Regions from separate parts of the Homo sapiens genome. Here regions 1 and 3 are each linked to region 2. Evidence: promoter capture Hi-C in 16 types of primary human blood cells and fetal thymus (Javierre and others, 2016). All regions are on one chromosome and are shown on one strand. The core of a region is centred on a gene start or on the middle of the fragment in contact, and the rest is flanking DNA. Distances in the headings are between cores, read along the strand shown. Region 1 has its middle 190 kb from the start of SH3BGRL. Region 2 holds the start of HMGN5 (high mobility group nucleosome binding domain 5). Region 3 has its middle 140 kb from the start of SH3BGRL.

What was found. Contacts are between HindIII fragments. The CHiCAGO score rates a contact against its expected background, and 5 or more counts as called.
Region 1: a fragment that was not itself captured here is called in contact with the fragment with the promoter of HMGN5 in region 2 in 4 of 17 cell types (monocytes, M2 macrophages, M0 macrophages and 1 more); the score reaches 9.8 in monocytes.
Region 3: a contact is called between a fragment that was not itself captured here and the fragment with the promoter of HMGN5 in region 2, in 2 of 17 cell types (M2 macrophages and M0 macrophages). The highest score is 6.1, in M2 macrophages.

The regions. Positions count from the first base shown.
Region 1 is chrX:81,390,815-81,393,550 of GRCh38, forward strand. No RefSeq gene overlaps it. Among named protein-coding and RNA genes, the nearest start is that of SH3BGRL, 190 kb to the left of the region's middle. The HindIII fragment of the contact is 192 bases long and covers 1,218-1,409 here.
Region 2 is chrX:81,200,544-81,203,520 of GRCh38, forward strand. HMGN5 (high mobility group nucleosome binding domain 5) reads right to left here and starts at 1,370. Exons shown (of 7, transcript NM_030763.3): 1 at 1,194-1,370. SH3BGRL (SH3 domain binding glutamate rich protein like) reads left to right here and starts at 1,559. Exons shown (of 4, transcript NM_003022.3): 1 at 1,559-1,702. The coding sequence starts at 1,658. RefSeq lists enhancers at 1,215-1,464, 1,585-1,754. The HindIII fragment of the contact is 6,013 bases long and covers 1-2,977 here.
Region 3 is chrX:81,344,871-81,347,576 of GRCh38, forward strand. No RefSeq gene overlaps it. Among named protein-coding and RNA genes, the nearest start is that of SH3BGRL, 140 kb to the left of the region's middle. The HindIII fragment of the contact is 4,166 bases long and covers 1-2,706 here.

The sequences.
Region 1 (2,736 bases), core at 64-2,563, 190 kb after region 2:
TTGCTTTTGCCAGGCTGTGATATCTGTATTTGTTCATTTATCATTATCATGAGGCATGAATGCACAAAGAAATACCCCAGTATCCTTGGGTTCTAAAAATTTCTCTCTACCTCAATCATGTGACAGTAAACCTAGCTCCACAAGGTGATTTGGGTCAGTTTTCCCCAGTAATATTAACTGTTTTTTTTTCTGCTTTCTGGTGCCTTTCATAAAAAATCCAAAAGAATTAAGTGGCAGATTGTTGTAACTTCATGTTCAATGGCATCCTTCCACTCTCCTTTTGTAGAAGCATTCTCCATTGAAAGCAAAGTCTCAAATCTGGCAGCGTCTAAGGGTTTAGGGATGAATAACCAAAGTCTACAAGTGTTGGAGAGAGGTGGCAATCCCATTGTTGCCTGGAACAATTTATTTCAGCTACTGCGGACACAAAATCATATTATATCAACTATTGTTTTAATGAATATACTACATACTGGAGCATCATGGTCCAACCTTTTAGAGTGAGTTCCCAAATAGAACCTACACTGGGTCTCTGCTAGGCCATTCAACTAAGCGGGCTGATTTCAGATTATATGATACGTGGTAGAACTAGTAACCCTGGGTGTAAGAGCACTAATTTAATTCACCTGCAACAAAGTGGCTGGATGGTATTATACATATCAAGGGCTCAGTGTCAGTCTCTGCTGCTAGCAGATTGGGCATTCAGCATAGAGGTAGCTATATCAACCTTTGTGAGGGGAAACTCATGCCTAGCTTTTATTTCTGCTACCATAGCCACTTTATTCAATGTACCATTAAAAAAGCACTGGGGTAGCTTAGGTGAGAGGCTGGCTGATATCCGTAGGATAAATTATCCTGTTCTCTTAGATATTGAGGAGCTCCTTAACATTAATGTTTGTCACAAACTTCATCCTTCACCCATTCCATAGGTCATCCCTGTACTGCTACTCTAGACCCCCTTGTCTCCAATTTCAGTCTTGCTATTTCTAGATTTCAAACGATCCAGTGAGTACATTTAACACCACCCAGACATCTATGGCTATCCACGCTTCTGGCCATTTCTTGTTCTAGGCTGTATCAGTTAGCTGTTTCTACAAAATAAATCACCTCAAAACCCAGTTGCTTAAAACAGTAAACTTGTATTTTCATTAATAACCCAAAAAAATGTTAGCTAGATAGTTCTGTTTTCCTGGATCAGCGTTGGTTTATTTCATCCAAGCTTGTTCAGGCACCTGCAGTCAACTGGTGGAACAGCTGGGAGATGGCTGGTATAGGAGGGCCTTACTTACGTGTCTGGTAGTTTGTTGCCTGTTGCCTAGGGCAGTTGGAGCCACATGGCAATTATCATCCAGAAGACTGTCTCAGACTTCTTCACATGGTGATACCAGGGTTCTGAAAGACAGAAGAGAAGCTTATTGAGTACTAGGCCCAGAATTGGTACTTATGCTGCATTTAATGAATCAAACAAATCGCCACGCCCACCCATTGTCAAGGAGTGGGGAAATAGACACTATCTTTTAATGGGAGGAGTTGAAAAGTCAGAAACAACAGGGTAAATCATTTCAGTTATTATTGCAATTAATTAACTATACACTAAGTTTATAACCAGGTGTACTAGTTAAAACAACCTCCCTACTTTTGTCCTTTAGAGACATCCATGTGTAAGTCATGCAGAGGCAGTAGCAGGCTACTTTTGGTTTACAATACATATTGAGTATTGAGCTTACCAAACTGTGAGCCAGGCCCTGGAATAGTTCCCCTATTTTCTGACAGCTGCTCATGGAGAACCCCATATGAGGAAGACACTTCAGTGCAACAGAGGAAGGTGACATATAGTTTGGGCTATCTGCTTGCATAACTTACTTGAGACCTTGAAAACAGTCTATTTTATAATGGATTGCTGTTGACTTGGTAAATCTGATAATAACCAGCTCATGATCTAGTGGCATAGTCACTTGATGTCCCTTAGTTATGTGCTCAGTTTCTATTAGGGTCTGCTTTTCCAAAAAGCAGTGCTCTGCTACAGAAAGTAAGACCTTGCTTTCTGAGATCTGTGCTATGACTGTTCAATTGAGATTAACTGGAGAATCCACATAGCATCCTCATCCACTACAGATGCCTCTAAAACCATCAAATCTACTAGGTCATATAGACTGAGAAACAGGACAGCTTTCACCTGATTCTTTTAAAGAGGCTTTTGTGATGTAAGGCATAAAATTAAGGCCCAATATTATATACTTCTTTGTTATCTGAAACCAGAAGGACATCAAAAGGCCTAACTGCAAAATTTTCATCCCTATTCTGTCACTGCAGATAACATCTCCTAGAAAGACCACCCTCCTTAACAAAGGGACTAAGCACAGTTCTTGCTTGTCCCAGAGTAGCAGGTTTCAGTTCTCTGTCAAATTATTCAAACAAATCAATGCCAACCCCTCATAGAACCAGGAGCCACCTCACCTTCTTTACATTACGAAGCCTGACTTCCACAGCCCCTCTTGTTCACTCTGTTCCCAAGTGCAATCGCAACATTGCCCTGAGTCATGTGTAGTGTTCTTTTCCTTTGGGCTATGAGTACATGTGACTAATAAATTTCCATTGATCTCATCTGTCTAATGTTGTGTATCTGGTCATGCCCAAAGCCCTAGGGTCTTCCCTAAAAAATGGGCTAATAGGAGGCAATTAGAACACCCTTTCTTACTGCTCAGAACCCCAATCAAAACAATGCTTTTTGAAACT
Region 2 (2,977 bases), core at 120-2,619:
CATGTCCTTTGCAGGGACATGGATGAAGCTGGAAACCATCATTCTAAGCAAACTATCACAAGGACAGAAAACCAAACACCACATGTTCTCACTCATATGTGGGAGTTGAACAATGAGAACACATGGACACAGGACAGGGAACATCACACCCCGGGGCCAGTCGGGGGGTGGGGGGCTGGAGGAGTGATAGCATTAGGTGAAATACCTAATGTAAACAACGAGTTGATGGGTGCAGCAAACCAACATGGCACATGTATACCTATGTAACAAACCTGCACGTTGTGCACATGTACCCTAGAATTTAAAGTATAATTAAAAAAAAATAAGAAGGTGGCCTCTGGAGTTCCTAACTCTGGAATGTACTAACCATATGATTTTAGGAAAACTATTTTTCTGAGTTTCAGTTTCTTCATCTGTAAAATTAATGTAATAGTACCCACCTCTTGAGGTTGTTTTAAGGACAACATGTAAAGAGATTAATTTGGAATTAGTATTTAAGACAGATTGGAGAAGGGAAAACCTGTGGGTAGGGAACAGTTAACAAAGCTATTGTAAGCACTGAGCCTAGGCAAAGACAGTAAACCACTAGACTGGAGACAGTGGAAAAACAGCAAAGGAAAAGAAGTAGGACAAGCGACTGACTCCTCTCCACTCTCATTCATCTTGCAAATTCCTTTTTTTCTGTTCATTTAACATAATCTGGGAACCTAAAACTACACTTTGAAGTATATGGTCTGTCTCTGGACATTATTAACTGTTTGCTCATTTCCTTAGAGCTACAAATAACCATCTGATCTCTCTCTTCACCATTTCAACATCTGCAATATGTTCTCCCAAATCCCTTACTTCAGTCAGTTAAAAAGCAAAACAAAACAAAAATCATCCATCTTTTTACACAATATTTTCAATCTTTTCTTTGTAATTTATTCCTTCATTCTTAAACTTGCCAATCAGGCCTCCTGCAAATTCCCACGGAAGCAGGGTTCCCTAATTTAACAAAACACAAAATTCAAAAAGAAAACCAATCCTGCCATTTCTGGGCTTAAGGAAACCTGAAACTTTCCTTCAAAACTCTGCAGCATTGCTCAGTACTTTAGTGCCTAATTCCTACAACGAGCTAAGATCAGAAAAATCACTACGTAATAGGAATCTTAAAATGCGCAAGGCTTTGAGAACATGGGTTTTCAACATACAGCTTGCTCTTTCAGGATCTGTCTTCTTATTTGCATATATTTCTGAGCAGGAAGTTATGCGCAGTACTTTTAGTCTCCGCGTGAAAAGGTCCTTCATGCTAATCTAATTCAATTCAGTTCTCCTTTTTCTTTCTTCTTCTCCTCGCCCTCTTCTCAGGGAAGGAATCGTCAAAAATCAATGTTTCAACAGATCTCGCGGTGCTATTCGAGATTCCCTATTAAAAAAAAATAGAATTGATGCAAACAGCCTGTTCCTTCCGGGGTTTTGGGCTGGAACTGCAGCGCTTAGAGAGCTCGGTGGAAGCTGCTAAAGGCGGAGGCGGGGCTCTGGCGAGTTCTCCTTCCACCTTCCCCCACCCTTCTCTGCCAACCGCTGTTTCAGCCCCTAGCTGGATTCCAGCCATTGCTGCAGCTGCTCCACAGCCCTTTTCAGGACCCAAACAACCGCAGCCGCTGTTCCCAGGATGGTGATCCGTGTATATATTGCATCTTCCTCTGGCTCTACAGCGGTAAGGAGAGTGGGGAGTCCACCTTTGTTGTTTTCCTACACACCAGTCCTCTGCTGCCCCAGAACCATTAAAATGCAGAAGTTCCTCTGGCAGCTTCTCCTTTGGAAGACTCATGCATCCCCGATCCCACCCTTCTTCTTCCCTTTTTTCCCTTTGTTGCATCGATTTCATTTTTTTTTTTTTCCACATAGAGTTCAGCTTTGTTTGCTTCGTGACGTTGGGGGGCACATTTCTGCTTTGAAGGAAAACGAAAGCTACCAAGTTTTGGGAGATGGGAGATGGTGCTATACGGTCTTTAGGGTTACGTGAAGTCAAGTAAAATCGCACACTGGTGAGTTTCAAGAGTGAGACATTTGATGAATACGCCCTAAGTACTGAGACAAGGAGGAGTGCACTTCTGTAAAGGATGGGGGTACACATGCTGTAACTGGTGGGGATTGAGTGGAGGCCTACCGAGGCATTGTAATTATTCTGGGTGAGTGAGACCCTGGTAATAGAGTTATTTTGAGAGTGTGTAGAAGAAAGTGGTTAACTTGAGCTTGAAGGCCTGTTAGAACTAGACAAATTGGGAGGGGAAGTTGGTAACAATGACGTAAATTTTTTTTTAACTTAATATGACACGAGATTCAGTTTTCCCCCCATATTGTCCCTTATTTTGACTGTTTCTATTCTTTCAAAATATTTTACTTTTAAATTTCTCTCACTGCTTCAAGTATATTGAGAACTGGATAGGGAGCTCAGTGGCTTCTTGTGTAGTGGCAGCCTGAGTTGCTGCTGCTTCAAATGATAGGACTTTCTCTTTCATGGATTCACTTACTCTTAATTTAGAATAACAAATTTTCAGCAGCTGTCGGGAGAATATGATAAACTGGGGTGCAAGATGAGTGTATATCCATGATAAATGAAAGTGCTTCTGCTTTTTACAACTCAAGAGAAAGGCAGACAGTGGCAAGAACAGATGTGTGGGTTCAGATTGTAGGGTATAGGAACCCCTTCCCTCTTCTTGAGCTTTAGAGCAGCAGCTAATCCAGGTTGTTGTGTGTTTTTATTTTTTGGCTTGTTTATTTACACCTGAGAGGATGTGGAATGGAAGTGGAGGTTATGTTAAATCACAAGAACCTTGATATTTGAACTTTGTCTTCTCTGGCCACCATGTGTGGATATGTTTATGCAATTTTGGAATATCAGAAAATTTAATCTTACATTTTTTGAATAAGTTTAGGTTAAAAAAAAGAACACCTTTTATATTTCCTTTGGACCTAATTTTATGAGCCT
Region 3 (2,706 bases), core at 102-2,601, 140 kb after region 2:
CTCTCAGCTCGTCAAAGTCATTCTCCGTCCAGCTTTGTTCCCTTGCTGGTGAGGAACTCTGTTCCTTTGGAGGAGGAGAGGCGCTCTGCTTTTTAGAGTTTCCAGTTTTTCTGTTCTGTTTTTTCCCCATCTTTGTGGTTTTATGTACTTTTGGTCTTTGATGATGGTGATGTACAGATGGGTTTTTGGTGTGGATGTCCTTTCTGTTTGTTAGTTTTCCTTCTAACAGAGAGGACCCTCAGCTGCAGGTCTGTTGGAGTACCTGGCCGTGTGAGGTGTCAGTCTGCCCCTGCTGGGGGGTGCCTCCCAGTTAGGCTGCTCGGGGTTCAGGGGTCAGGGACCCACTTGAGGAGGCAGTCTGCCCATTCTGAGATCTCCAGCTGCGTGCTGGGAGAACCACTGCTCTCTTCAAAGCTGTGAGACATGGACATTTAAGTCTGCAGAGGTTACTGCTGTCTTTTTGTTTGTCTGTGCCCTGCCCCCAGAGGTGGAGCCTACAGAGGCAGGCAGGCCTCCTTGAGCTGTGGTGGGCTCCACCCAGTTTGAGCTTCCCGGCTGCTTTGTTTACCTAAGCAAGCCTGAGCAATGGTGGGCGCCCCTCCCGCAGCCTCGCAGCCGCTTTGCAGTTTGATCTCAGACTGCTATGCTAGCAATCAGCGAGACTCCGTGGGTGTAGGACCCTCTGAGCCATGTGCGGGATATAATGTCCTGGTGCGCCGTTTTTTAAGCCCATCGGAATAGCGCAGTATTCGGTTGGGAGTGACCCGATTTTCCAGGTGCAGTCTGTCACCCCTTTCTTTGACTGGGAAAGGGAACTCCCTGACCCCTTGCACTTCCTTAGTGAGGCAATGCCTCGCCCTGCTTCGGCTCGCGCACTGCGCGCACACCCACTGACCTGTACCCACTGTCTGGCACTCCCTAGTGAAGATGAACCCGGTACCTCAGATGGAAATGCAGAAATCACCGGTCTTCTGCATTGCTCATGCTGGGAGCTGTTGACCGGAGCTGTTCCTATTCGGCCATCTTGGCTCCTCCCTTAATAATTTCACTTTGGTTCCTTTTTTATAGTTTCTTTTTATTAAAATTCTCATTTTGTTCAATATATTGCTTTCTTGGTTTCCTTTAGTTCTTCATTCATAGTTTCCATTAGCTCTTTGAGTGTATTTAATACAGTTGACTTAAAGCCTTTGTGTGGTAAGTCCAATATCTGGTCTTCCTCAGGAATGATTTATTTTTTCCTTTGAATGGCTGTACTTTTTTGTTTCTTTGTATACTCATTGTATTTCAAAAATTGCACATTTGACTATTATAATGTAGTTACCAAGGTTGGTTGTTCTTTATTCCTGAAAGTTACAGTTTTTCTATTTTTCTATTGCAAAGATTGTATTCACTGAACTTGTGTTCACTGAAGTCTCTAGTTCTATTAGCTTCTGTTCAGCTTGTGTTTTCTGAGATTTTCTTAAGGTCGAGGAGTTCAAAAAAACAAACACATACAAAACACCACTCCCACTCTTTGAGTATTGGCTTTGTGCTATGGCAAGGCTTTTAGGCTTAGCCAAGCCATTTGCAAGTCTGACATAACCTTCACTTTCTGCTTGCCTTGAGTCTAGATATTAGCCAGAGGTGAAATCTTAGGGTCTTCTCAAGCCTTTTCTGAGCATGCATTCTGTCCTTAGCATTAAGTCTATTTTTAAATTCCCCGGTATATAGGAGGACTTTTGCATGCCCAAGTTTCCCGAAGAAACTTTCTTCTCAGGCTTTCCTACCAAGATTTAGACAGTGTGCTGTATGTATAGGTCATAGTGATTTGCTTCAGGTGGCTGTGTGTTTCTTATTCACCTTACAATGTTTTCAAGCAGTGCCCACTGGTTTTCCACCTCGAGTGAGTTCTGAGTTATGTACTTTTATATGTGTGCTATATACTGTAGTATTTTCTGCTGTTTTATTTCTTTTTCTCAACAAGGCCAGTAGCATACTACTAGATATTAATTTCACATAACCTCCTTTCTTTCCAAAGTCTCTGCATTACAGAATTAATATAAAAGGTACTTGGGATTTGAGAGTGACTCTTGCCTTATTCCACTAGCTTTCACCCATAGTGCAACCTTAGGAATATGTCTGTGTCTATCCTTTATCAGTGTAAAGGGAAACCTTTTCTTCTTTCAACCTCAACCGTGATCCCAGATATTTTAATTCTCTTCTGCTTTCTTTTTGGGAAATGGCGGTTGCGGTATATATTAACTTCCTGTGAATTCCATAACAAACTATCACAAATAAGTGGCTTAAGACAATGGAGATTTATTCTCTCACAGTTCCGGAAGCCAGAAGTTTGAAACGAAGCTATCAACATTTCTACATTCCCTCTGGAGACTCTAGAGGATAAAATGTTCTTAGTCTGTTTTGGCATCTGTTGGTTTCTGGAAGTGCTTGGCATGTGGCTGCATCACTGCCATCTCTGTTTCCATGATCACAATGCCTCCTCTTTCTTCTCTCTGTCTAATCATCTCCCTCTTCCTTACCCTTATAAGGAAAGTTGTCATTGGATTTAGGGTTCACTTGGATAATTAAGGGTGATCACCTCATCTCAAAATCCTTAATTACATTTACAAAGACCCCTTTTTCCAAATAAGGTAACATTCACAGGTTCCAGGGATTCAGATGTAGACATCTATTTTTGGGGGGAGGGGTCACCTTTTTACCCATGAC